Linked DNA regions of Homo sapiens: all the other regions are linked to region 4. The links are contacts of gene promoters, found by promoter capture Hi-C in human tissues and cell types (Jung and others, 2019). All regions are on one chromosome and are shown on one strand. Each heading gives the region's core, a stretch centred on a gene start or on the middle of the fragment in contact. The rest is flanking DNA. Distances are from core to core; before and after follow the strand shown.

Region 1 (2,905 bases), core at 294-2,793, 52 kb after region 4:
CACTGAAATTGGCACTGAATAGGCATGGGGAAGTTTCAGTGGAAGTGAATGGGGAGCACTGGGGGGACTTACTGAAAGACTTTCAGATACAGGGAGTATTTGACACAGCTCACCTCCAACTGGCCTGGTTTTATTCTGAATTGTTTGGAGCAGAGGAAGGGAGAGGGAAAACATAAAGATCAGGGTAATAGGTTCTAGGAGCTGACGGAGCTGATGGAGCTGAACAGGGTAGGGACCATGGAAGGTAGAGCTATTGCGCAAAAATTAGGCAGCCTCTAGGCAGGCAGGCACTTGGCTGGATCCAAGTGGCAGTGTTAGGTGCTGTGGGTGAATGCACACCCACAAGTATATGCACATTCCCTGCCTCCTGGAAGCTCACAGTTCAGCCAGTGATACATGTATAGAAGTTTGAAGCAGTAACATTAGATATGAGGTTGAATTCATGCTGACCGGATTTCTGTGGACTTCGTGGAGGCCCTGAAGGCTTTGTAGGATCTAGAAAGGCAGAAACAGATGTGGTGGGGGATAGGTTGAAGAGTCGTGGATGACTCACTAAGACATTGAGGTGGGAAGGTATGCAGGGACTATACCACACTGTGTGGAGGAGGGGGTTCATGGAAAGGGTAAGAACTCCCAAAGGGTAGATGAAGAGCCATGAAGACCCAGCTAAGGAAACCCATGAATGACTGGGATCCACTGGAAAGTCTTGAGCAAAGAACCGGAGGATGCAAGTGCTGCAGAGAACAGACCCCATACTGTGGACGGATTGAGAGCACAGTGGGGGCCCCTCAAGCTGTTCCACACTCTGGGCAGTAGGGTTTATCCAAGTGCCCACCACCAAGTATCTGGGCACTAGGCAGGGAGCAAGGGGTGTTTCCAGTTCCAGTGTTAAAAAATTCCATCCAATTTGTAGGTTCCAAGGAAGGATTGGGCTCCCAGAAGCTTGGAGTTCTTGTTTTATGACCACCATCCAGCCCTAAGAGCCTGGGGGGTTTGTATGCATTTTCATTGCGCAGATGGACCTCCCAATTTTCTCAACTTTACTTCCCTTTCACATTTGCACAGACCATATAATCATGGTTTTAAAGGTCATAAAGTTCACTGTGCTAGGAGATACAGAAATACTTTCTTGATGACGGGGCCAAACGTTCATTAAGTGCTTTCATGTGCCCTGCATTTGAATTTATTCATGATAGCTTCAACATTCTGAGTGTTTACTGTGGGGCAGGCACTGTGCTAACTGTGTATTATCTTGTATACTTTTCAGGACAAGTGAAAGTGATGACCCCATTTAATAGATGAAGAAAACTGACACTCAAAGAAGGGAAATAACTTGCCCAAGATCACAGAGCTCAGGTTGGCTGGACTCTAGGACATCCCATGCCTCCACACCATGCTGCTTGTCAGCAGCAGCACGCAGAGCTGGTTGCAAAGGAGGGGCTGACATATATTAAGAGTTGAGGCCGGGCGTGGTGGCTCACGCCTGTAATCCCAACACTTTGGGAGGCCGAGGTGGGCGGATCACAAAGTCAAGAGGTCAAGACCATCCTGACCAACATGGTGAAACCCCGTCTCTACTAAAAATACAAAAATTAGCTGGGCGTGGTGGCGTGTGCCTGTAATCGCAGCTACTTGGGAGGCTGAGGCATGAGAATCACTTCAACCCAGGAGGCGGAGGTTGCAGTGAGCTGAGATCATGCCACTGCAGCCTGGGCGACACAGTGAGACTATGTCTCAAAAAAAAAAAAAAAAAAGTTGAACTTTTGCTTCTGGGATGTTTATGTTTTTTCCTAGTCTTCAGGGGTTCAGGGCTCTCAGATGTCTCCCCCACCATACCTCCACTCAGTCTTCCACTGATGACATTTCTTAATAATTCACGTGCTTCCCCCTCGGCTCAGTTACACATTGGAGAACACTGCTGCATCTGAACCACTGTAGCTGACAAGCTATCATGCAGCTCACCCAAACAGCAGCTTGCAAGGCCTATCCATTCTGAACATTTGGAATGGAACTCTTCTGATCCTTATTTTCCACCTAGAACAGTCATAATGGGGCAATGGGAATGTATTGATTGTCACTGTTTTGCTTGTATACCTTGGACTGTTTCTGCAAAAGGAGATATGTTTGAGTGTTTTAAGGCAGCCTTGCAGATAGCTTCTAAAAAGAATTCACTGGCCTGAAAAAATGATTCCTAGCCTGCAGAACTTTCATTTGTCTTCCCTGTGCTTGAGAGAGTTGGGTAGCCCACAGGAAAGAACAAGTGGTGAAAACCTGGCTTCTAATCCTAAAGCTTCCAACAGCGAGTTATGGGGTCTTGGGCACATTCTTTACATTTCAGGCTCGGTTTTCTCATCTGTAGAATGTGAGTGTTACTTTTCTCCTCCAGAATTGTCCTGTGGGTCAAGATGAGATAGCAGATGTCATAAGAGCTTTGTAAGCTACAAAGTAGATGTATATGTGTGGGATAATAGTACACAGTTTCCTGAACTAACTCATGGAGTTCTTGAAGACATCAGATGAAACAGTAGATGGGAAAATTCTGTGAAGGGAAGAAACTCTGAGCATCTCTGAAGCAGGTGCTCTTGCTCAAGCCTTAGCATTGCGTCTGTCACAGCAGGAAGCAGGGGCTGCTTGACAAAGCAGTGCAGGGGGTTCATATTCCAAGGGGAGGTTTTATTTAGAAGAGAAATTACTTAAAATAGAAGTCAAACATTTATAGTAAATATTGGGGGGAAAAGATTTGATCAGGCCTTCATTTTGAGAAATGAAACTAAAAATTTTAAAGTATATTTATACTGTATTTAACAACATACTGCAACCATGCCCCAGTTCTTAGTTTGAACAAAGTGTTGATTTATTTTTTGTGTAATTATTTGGAGACAATGAGAATAGCAGAAAAGGACAT
Region 2 (3,049 bases), core at 312-2,811, 34 kb after region 4:
TGGAAAAGAAAATGTATTTGAAGACATAATGGCTGAAAAATTCCAAAGTTGATGAAAATGATATCACCCACAGATCCAAGAAGCCCAATAAATCCAGGAAAATCATGTGGAAAACTACACCTAGACACATCATAGTCAAACTGCTGAAAACAAAAGATGAGAAAAATCTTAAAATCATCAGGGAATAACACACAGGAGAACAATAGGAATTACATACAGGAGAACAGTAAGAATACTGCGGACTTCTCATCAGAGACGATACAAACCAAAACATAACTGAATGACATCTCTAAGGTGCTGAAAGGGAAAAATACTGTCAACTTAACAATTCTGTATCCAACCACAAGTATCCTTAAAATGAAGATAAAATCCAAACATTTTCAGATAAAATAAATTGCTTAGAGAAAGTATCACTAGCACAGTTATACAATAAGAAATGTTAAAGGAAATTTTTCAGGGCCAGGTGCAGTGGCCCATGCCTGTAATCCCAGCACTTTGGGAGGCTGAGGCGAGCGGATCATGACGTCAGGAGTTTGAGACCAGCCTGACCAACATGGGGAAACCCTGTCTCTACTAAAAGTACAAAAATTAGCCAGGCTGGTGGTGCTCACCTGCAGTCCCACCTACTCAGGAGGCCGAGGCAGGAGAATCGCTTGAACCTAGGAGGCAGAGGTTGCAGTGAGTTGAGACTGTGCCGCTATACTCCAGCTTGGGTAACAGAGCGTGACTCTGTCTCAAAAAAAAAATAAATAAATTTTTCAGGCCAAAGGAAGATGATATCAGGTGGAAACTTAGATCTACGTGAGAAATTAAAAGAGCACCAGAAATAGAAAAAACTAAAAATTTCTTCATTTCTTTAAAAGATAGTTGACTCTTTAGAGCAAACATAATAATGGTGTATTGTGGATGATTTTTTTTTTAAAAGCAGAACAGAAAACAAGAAACAGGTAAGACAAATAGACAACAAATGGCAAATTGGTAGACTTAAATCCAGCTATATCAATAATTCAGTAAAAGTAAATGGACTAAACACTTTAATTAAAAAGTAGAAAAAAAGAACAAGACTCAAGTATATAGCCTGCCTGTAACAGGTTCACTTTAAATATAAATACATAGGTTACAAGTAAAAGGATAGGAAGGATATACCATACCAATACTAATCAAAAGAATATTGGAATGGCTGTCAGCATGGCATGCAGAGAGCTTTTACAATAATAGGGTGATTCATCAAAAAGACATGACCATCCTAAATGTGTAGACACCTAGTAGCTGAGTTCAAATACCTGAATAAATGACTGGATCCAGTAGAGCAAGCTTTCCAGCTCTTTGCAGGGGAGAGGACAGATGGAGCCATTTCCTCATTCCAGTCCTGATCTCCTTTGACTCGCTGGCAAGGGCAGAAGTGGGCAGAAGCAAGCTAACCTCCATGGCCTCATTCTGTGCATAGCATTGAGACCACGTGTGTCCTCCTTGTCCTCTGAGATGGCAGGCCCTGGGGCCTTCTGATAGGAGCCCCTACCAACAGCTCCCACAGGGTACCCCACCCTAGCTTTTCTTGCCATGAAGAGAGCTTTCTGGAACCTGCCAAGCTCACGTGTGATGCCAGTCAGGACTTGGGGCCATGCTCGCTGAGATTGGCAGGGGCTGGGGTCCTGGAGTGGTGGATGGCATCATTGTCAGTCTCTGGGAACTCTGGGTGTCCTAGGACACAGGAGAAGGTGGCAGTGTCCGCCCTCAGGCTGGTTCCTGGCATTCAGATACTGACAGGAGCTGAGTCAGCACCAGGTGGGGCAGTGGGGAGGGGAATTTTTAAGCAATAATGAAAAGTTGCCTGGAAGAGGAGGAGAAGCTTCCTGGATAGGCTGTATCTGGTGGCAAAGAATTCCATCATTTACAGGCAGTCCCATTTGCACTGACATTCCATGTGAGAAATGATTTCTTTTCCTTTTTAAAAAATTGTGGTAAAATATACATAACATAAAATTAATCATCTTAACCATTTTCAACGGTAGAGTTTAGTGCATTAATTATATTGTTATTATGCCACCATCACCACCATCCATCTCCAGAACTCTTTTCATCTTCCTACACCCACTAAACAATTCCCCATTCCACCCTGCCCCCAGCCCCTGGAAACTACTATTCTGTCTCTGGCTCTATGAGTTTGACTACTCTAGATACCTCATATAAATGAAATCCCATAGTATTTGTCCTTTGTGACAGGTGGTTTCACTTAGCATTATGTGAAATAATACATAAGACTCATCCATGTTGTAGACTGTGTCAAAATTTCCTTCCTTTTTAAGGGTAAATCATATTCCCTTGTATGTTGATATCACATTTTGCTTTTCTGTTCCTCTGTCGGTGGACATTTGGGTTGCTTTCACCTTTTGGCTATTTGTGAATAATGCTGCTAGGAATGTGAGTGGACAGTAATGATTTTTTGTTTTGTTTTGTTTTAAGGTAATAAGGCGTAAATGGGGATAGGAATTAGTGGCTCAGGACACCGACCTGATAGTCTTTTTTTTTTTTTTTTTTGGGACGGAGTTTTGCTCTTGTTGCCCAGACTGGAGTGCAATAGCGTGATCTCGGCTCACCGCAACCTCCGCCTCCCAGGTTCAAGCGACTCTCCTGCCCCAGCCTCCCTACTAGCTGGGATTACAGGCATGTGCCACCACGCCCAGCTAATTTTGTATTTTTAGTAGAGACAGGGTTTCTCCATGTTGGTCAGGCTGGTCTCGAACTCCCCACCTCAGGTGATCCGCCCGCCTCAGCCTCCCAAAGTGCTGGGATTACAGGCATGAGCCACCGTGCCCGGCCCCGACTTGATAGTGTTATTTGTTGTTGTTGTTGTTGTTTTTAGATGGAGTCTAGCTCTGTAGCCCAGGCTGGAGTACAGTGATGCGATCTCAGCTCACTGCAACCTCCGCCTCCTGTGTCCTGGTTCAAGCAATTCTTCTGCCTCAGCCTTCCAAGTAGCTGGGATTACAGGCACGCGCCACCATGCTAATTTTTGTATTTTTAGTAGAGATGGGGTTTCACCATGTTG
Region 3 (2,850 bases), core at 90-2,589, 50 kb before region 4:
CTAGCTCTACCACTGAGTATTTATCTAAACTTGAGCAAGTCACTTAAACCCATCTATATCTTGTGTGCAAAATGGGGATGATAATAATGCCTGCCTGAGAGTGTTGTTGTGTAAATTAGACAAAACAAGGGCAATGCTGAGAATAACACTCAGCCTGTGTAAATGCTCAACATGTTGCTGTTGCTGTGGTTTTTCTTCCTTGTATACCAGAGCAGACACCAAAGCCTGGCATTAGCTGACACTCAATGTTCAATAATTAATAAATGCACTAGGGCCCTATGATATGAGCAAAAAGAAAAAAAAATATAAGAAAAGGGAAGGAGGAAAAACTAAGGATGGCCAAGGGGATGGAAATAAGTAGGCATGATGGCAAGTCCCCAGCAGTTGCCTCCAAAAACCCTGGAAATCCTTCCTCATTGTTGCATCATTCATTCTGCCTAACAAAATGTTGGAGAGGTCTTGAACCAAAATCTGAAACCCATAGGTTTAAGAATGATGGTGGCCTTCCGCAGTTGTCCCAGATGAACCAACCCGATGTGACCAAGCTTCTGTTGGCAGAGGAGAAGACCTATCTTTCTGACCACCACTGTGTGTTTTGCTCTGAAAATGATGGCTCCAATCCCGTATAATTCAGACGGCATTAACTTTTGGACCTGTTTTTAAAAAAATAAAAAATCCTACTACTCAGCCTTTGCCTTCTTGACTATTCCCAGTTGCTGGAAGTTGTTGATAGGAATCTTCCACTTGAAGTTAGGGTTCCTTATAATCCCAAGAACTCACCACCTTTATTTCCCTCCCCATGCTTTGATGCATTCTCTTTTCTTTTTCTTTTTGTTCTTTTTTTTTTTGAAACAGAGTCTCACTCTGTCCCCCAGGGTGGGGTGCAGTGGCATGATCTTGGCTCACTGCAACCTCCACCTCCTGGGTTCAAACAATTCTCCTGCTCAGCCTTTTGGGTAGCTGGGATTATAGACACATGCTACCATGCTTGGCTAATTTTTTTTTTTTTTTTTTTTAGTAGACACAGGGTTTCACCATGTTGGCCAGGCTGGTCTCAAACTCCTGACCTCAGGTGATCTGCCAATCTCAGCCCCCTAAAATGTTGAAATTACAGACATGAGCCACACGCACCTGGCCTATGCATCCTCTTTTCTAATTGTCCTATAATAAATATTCTATCCTCTCTCTGAGATGACCTTATAGAAACAGCAATGGTTTGGAGAATCTGTAGTCCTGGGTTCAGATTCCACTTCTGCCACTTGTCTAGTTATGGGACTCCTGTAGACCTCAGTTGCTCTTATGTAAGATAGTTTCTATGTCATGAAAGTGAAAATGGGATCAGGTATGTAAAGTACCTAGCATAGCACCTGCCAAAGTATCAGGGGCTTGTATCAATTTAGATTTGTTTCCACCGCTAGTAACAGAGATTAGCAATAGCAAGGGTTTAAACAGGATTTACGCTTATTATTTTCCTATGATCTGAAAGGAGCTTAGGGAAAGCAATCCTTGGCTGTATGGATGAACACTGAAGACACCTAGATCAACAGAGATCTAGACTCTTTTTCTCTGGATAGGCCATCATCCTGGAGGTCTCCAGCCCCAAAGTCACCTCATAGTCACAAGGTAAATGCTGGAGCTCCAGCCATCACATACACATTTCACCCAGGAAAAGGAGGAAAGGGAAGAATTAAAGATTGCCTAGCTCTCAGCTGAGTCAATTTCCTTTAAGAATATTTCCCAGAAGACCAGCCAACAACAACCACTTACATCTTGTTGGCCACCCGTATCTCTGAAGGAAGCTGCGAAATGTGTTTCATTACCTGGGCACAAAGCTGTTTCCCAGAATGCAAGTGTCTGTGGTATTAGAATTATTCCTTGTCCCACCCCCTCACACCCCCAAAGCTGCAATGTGGAGCGTTCAAGGGCTGTGAAAATGCTTCACAGTCTGTTCATCATTTGACACATTTCAGGGCACTCAATGGACATACAATACAGGAAGCAGTAAAGCTGGTGAAGTGTATAAGAAGTTAACTGGTTAAAGTCTGAAGGCCTAAGTTCCAGACCAATCCAACCACTTCACTGCTGTGTGACCTTGAGCAAGTTTTGTAACCACTCTGTTTGAAGCTTTTTTTATCATTTGTCAAATGGTCTTTGTGAGCAACAACTCAAACAATGGATGCAAAATGCCTAACACAATGCCTGTATATATTCGTCCTCAGCATATATTAAAGTCATCATTACTATCAGCTGGGCGTGGTGGCTCACACCTGTAATCCTAGAACTTTGGGAGGACAAGGTGGGTGGATCACCTGAGGTCAGGAGTTCGAGACCAGCCTGGCCAACATGGTGAAACCTCGTCTCTACTAAAAATACAAAAATTAGCCCAGTATGATGGCACATGCCTCTAATCCCAACTACTCAGGAGGGAGGCTGAGGCAGGAGAATCACTTGAACCCGGGAGACAGAGGTTGCAGTGAGCTGAGATTGCACCACTGCACTCCAGCCTGGGCAACAGAGTGAGACTCTATCTCAAAAAAAAAAAAAAACTTATTATTACTATCATCACCACCATCACTACCATCATTATTACCAGTAAGTGCTGTTGAATTATTAGGGTAAAGTGAGGAGGTACCAGACATCTCTCGAGTCTCTTCCTTTCGCCTATTTACATCATCCCTTGCCTTCAGCAGCCACCCCAGGGATGTCTGGATTTGCAGTCAGTGAAGTTGTGAGAGCCTGGGCTGAGTCTGGTTCATTTCATTCACTTCCAGCCACCCACTCAGGGCTAGCTGAATCTCAGGAGCCCCTCTCCTTTGCCCCTCACCAGAGTCTAGTCTCCCAGCTCTGCCT
Region 4 (3,134 bases), core at 490-2,989:
GATTGAGATCATGTATTCAAAGAACCTAGCACCAGGTTGGCTTTGCTTTGGGGCTACTGCTCTAATCAATAGTGGGTTTTTATGTAGTAAAGGCTTGACCCAAACAGAGGAAGTGTAGAGGGCTGTGGGAATTCCCCCATAAAGGAATGGGGAATTCCAACTTTTGGGTGTTGAGGGCCAGTCTGAGGCTGGTGTCCCTGGACTCTGGTGCCTGGTATTTATGGAATGAAGGAGGGCCAAGCACTGAGCCCCGAGGCCTGGCCTCAGGGAAGGAATTAACTATGAAGAAGGCATTTGGAGGCGAGGCTCACTCTGGTGGGTCTTTTCTGTCAAGAGGAGATGAGACCACAAACATGATTCCCTCTCTGGCTCAGCAACACCCTGGTCCATACAGCACAGGGTGCTGGTTCTTCTGGAAGACCGTGGGGCTCAGGCAAGAGAAGACACCCAACTGGGCTTCATTCGACCAGTCCAGCTTCCTGCCATATGCCGAGGGCAAAAAAGGGTTAAATTCCCACTCAGTACACAGATGTAAGAGGAGATGGGGAAGTGAACAGCCAGTTGATCATTCACTCAATCATGCTAGCTTGCTTTTTGTATTTAATGCTACATTTTAAATTTATTTATTTATTTATTTGAGACAGAGTCTCGCTTTGTTGCCCAGGCTGGAGTGCAGTGGTGCGATCTTGGCTCACTGCAACCTCCACCTCCCAGGTTGAAGTGATTCTCATGCCTCAGCCTCCCGAGTAGCTGGGACTACGGGCGTGCACCACCACGCCCAGCTAATTTATTATTATTATTTTTTAGTAGAGATGGGGTTCACTATGTTGGCCAGGCTGGTCTGAAATCCTGACCTCAGGTAATCTGTCTGCCTCACCCTCCCAAAGTGCTGGGATTACAGGCGTGAGCCACCGCACCCACTAATTCTACATTTTTAATTTCTCAAGAAACATTGTGTCTCTGATTGTTTTATTCTCTTGAACATTTTTCAAGATGGAATTTTGCTTTGCTTACTTTCTTCTTTTTCATAGCCCCACTTCTCCCAAATCCATAACACACCTACCTCAAAGTATCACAGGAAAGAAAGCCTGTGAAGCTGCTAGCCACAGCCTGTCACAAGTAAGTCCTCAATTTAGCTAACAATAACAATGGCATTACTATTACTTTTACAAAGTGTTTTCCCTGACACCCTCTGGAAGTCCTCCCAGGAAAGCGGATCCACAGCGCTCCTAATTTTAGGGACCCTGAGGGGAGCCAGCTACATTTCCAAATGGTGGGGAAGGGTGGAGGGTGGGCGAAACGTCGTAGGGAGAGTTGAATAGAAGGAGACAGATGGTGCCTGTGTTGGGGGAAGGGACCAGAGATCCTGGAAAACTTATGTTTCCCAATTCGCAAGAATGTTTCCATTTAACCACTTCTTGCCTGACTCCTGATTCTACACCACAGAAAAGCAGGGAGTTTTTAAGATTTGGGGCCACCTGTGCCGAGAGCCTGGCTACTCCGGGTGGAGAGAGACAGGAGCGTTTTAAGTACAGGCAGAGCGGTTTTTGGCCCAGCCCCCTAGGTCTGGGACGCAGGTGAGGGGCGGTCTCTCCTTCCCCTGGCAGGGGCAGCGTAAGGGTGGCCGGCGGCTGGGACTGTCCCACGAGGGGGCGCGTCTCGGGCCCTAGGACCCGCCCTCGAGGCGCTGCGCGCGGGGAGGGGACCCGGGAACCCAGGCGCCCGGCGCTCCGCCTCCCGTTTCCGGGGCAGCGCGGTTACCTGCACCGCCCGAGCCGCACCTGGCGGAGGCAGAAGTCACAAACCCGGCGAGCTCAGAGCGGTGGAGCGGAGAGGAGGGACGGCACCCGGCTGCAGGGAGGAGGGAGGCGGCAGCGGCAGCGGCGGCGTGGAGGGCGCAGCGCGCCGCGCGGCGGAGGAGGGCAGACGGCGGCGGCGGCGGCGCTCGGCTCGCTCTGCCCGGCCGGCTGGGCGCGCACCCGGGCTCGCACCGCGCCGCTGCGGACGCACATGGCAGCGTGAGAGGCCGGCGGCGGGAGGAGCGGGCGGCGCCGGGTCGGGGCTGCAGGGCCGCATGGACAGCGGCGCCACCCCGGCCGGCCCCTACTAGGGCCCCCCATCTGCGGGCGCCACCCCCCGGATCATGGTGCCTCGGCGGCCGCCCGGGCTAAGAGCGGCCGGCTGGAGCCGCTGAGCCCCCGCTGCGGCCGGGAGCTGCATGGGGGAGCGCCGGCAGCGCTTGGGAAGATGCCCCGGCCGGAGCTGCCCCTGCCGGAGGGCTGGGAGGAGGCGCGCGACTTCGACGGCAAGGTCTACTACATAGACCACACGAACCGCACCACCAGCTGGATCGACCCGCGGGACAGGTAGGACCCTGGAACCCTCCTCCGTGCCCCCACACCCCCGCCTGGGCCCCCACCTGCCCCTGGAGCCGCCGGCCGGGACTGGGAGGGGGCAGGGGAGCTCTGCGTGCCTCTTGAGCTCTCTTCAGTTCGCCACCCCCTGCTCCCCCCAACCTTCTGGAGCGCTGCTCCCGCCTCAGTGGGCCACCGAGAGGAGGCGCCTGCCGGGGAGCTGGCCCAGGCTGCCCCACCGCCATCCCCAGTTGGAGGACTTAGGCCCCAGCCGGCACCTGCCCGGAGTTTTGACCTTAAGCTCTAGCCCCGCCCGCCCCCTTTAGGAAGAGAGGTCGGGCGGGGGCGGGGGTTGGGGGAGCGACCTAGCCGGGTGAAGCCGGGTCTTCCCGGGGAGGCTTCCACCCAGCGTGGGGGGTGGGCGGATGGGGATGGGGAAGTGTCCGGTTAGAGGGGGTGGTCAAGACCCCAGGATTCCGTGGGAGACCACTGGAGAGAGGGCACTCGGCGCAGAGGAAGGCAACCTGAGGTGTGCTTTTTGACAGGTGCCTTGGAAGCTGCTGAGAACAGCACAGGGGCAGCCAGGGGGCCCTGGAACCCGAGGGTGGGGAGGAAGTGAAGAAGCGGGGGAGGGCAGATGAGGGAGACTGGTTATCCAGGAATCTGGCAGCAACTTGGAAGCTGTTAGGATGGAGATGGAGGTGAGAGGCCTCCCGGAAAGCCTTGCCCCTCGCCTCTTTCTCCTCTCTTTCTTCCCTGATCGGGGAAGGGGGCGGCGAG

What was found. The method cuts DNA at HindIII sites, captures the fragments that hold promoters and counts their contacts. A contact is called where the count stands out against the background at its distance.
Region 1: a contact is called between a fragment that was not itself captured here and the fragment with the promoter of WWC1 in region 4, in 3 of the 25 tissues and cell types used here (H1 embryonic stem cells, IMR-90 fibroblasts and mesendoderm cells).
Region 2: a fragment that was not itself captured here is called in contact with the fragment with the promoter of WWC1 in region 4 in 6 of the 25 tissues and cell types used here (IMR-90 fibroblasts, dorsolateral prefrontal cortex, neural progenitor cells and 3 more).
Region 3: a contact is called between a fragment that was not itself captured here and the fragment with the promoter of WWC1 in region 4, in 1 of the 25 tissues and cell types used here (psoas muscle).

What each region holds. Positions count from the first base shown.
Region 1 is chr5:168,342,081-168,344,985 of GRCh38, forward strand. The region is part of intron 1 of WWC1 (WW and C2 domain containing 1); the gene reads left to right. Among named protein-coding and RNA genes, the nearest start is that of WWC1, 52 kb to the left of the region's middle. The HindIII fragment of the contact is 5,637 bases long and covers 1-2,905 here.
Region 2 is chr5:168,323,697-168,326,745 of GRCh38, forward strand. All of the region lies in intron 1 of WWC1 (WW and C2 domain containing 1), which reads left to right. Among named protein-coding and RNA genes, the nearest start is that of WWC1, 34 kb to the left of the region's middle. The HindIII fragment of the contact is 5,949 bases long and covers 1-3,049 here.
Region 3 is chr5:168,240,426-168,243,275 of GRCh38, forward strand. The region is part of intron 27 of TENM2 (teneurin transmembrane protein 2); the gene reads left to right. Among named protein-coding and RNA genes, the nearest start is that of TENM2-AS1, 9.5 kb to the left of the region's middle. The HindIII fragment of the contact is 5,657 bases long and covers 1-2,850 here.
Region 4 is chr5:168,289,906-168,293,039 of GRCh38, forward strand. It overlaps WWC1 (WW and C2 domain containing 1), which reads left to right and starts at 1,740. Exons shown (of 23, transcript NM_015238.3): 1 at 1,740-2,366. The coding sequence starts at 2,248. RefSeq lists an enhancer at 289-368 and silencers at 1,513-2,032, 2,133-2,552. The HindIII fragment of the contact is 18,450 bases long and covers 1-3,134 here.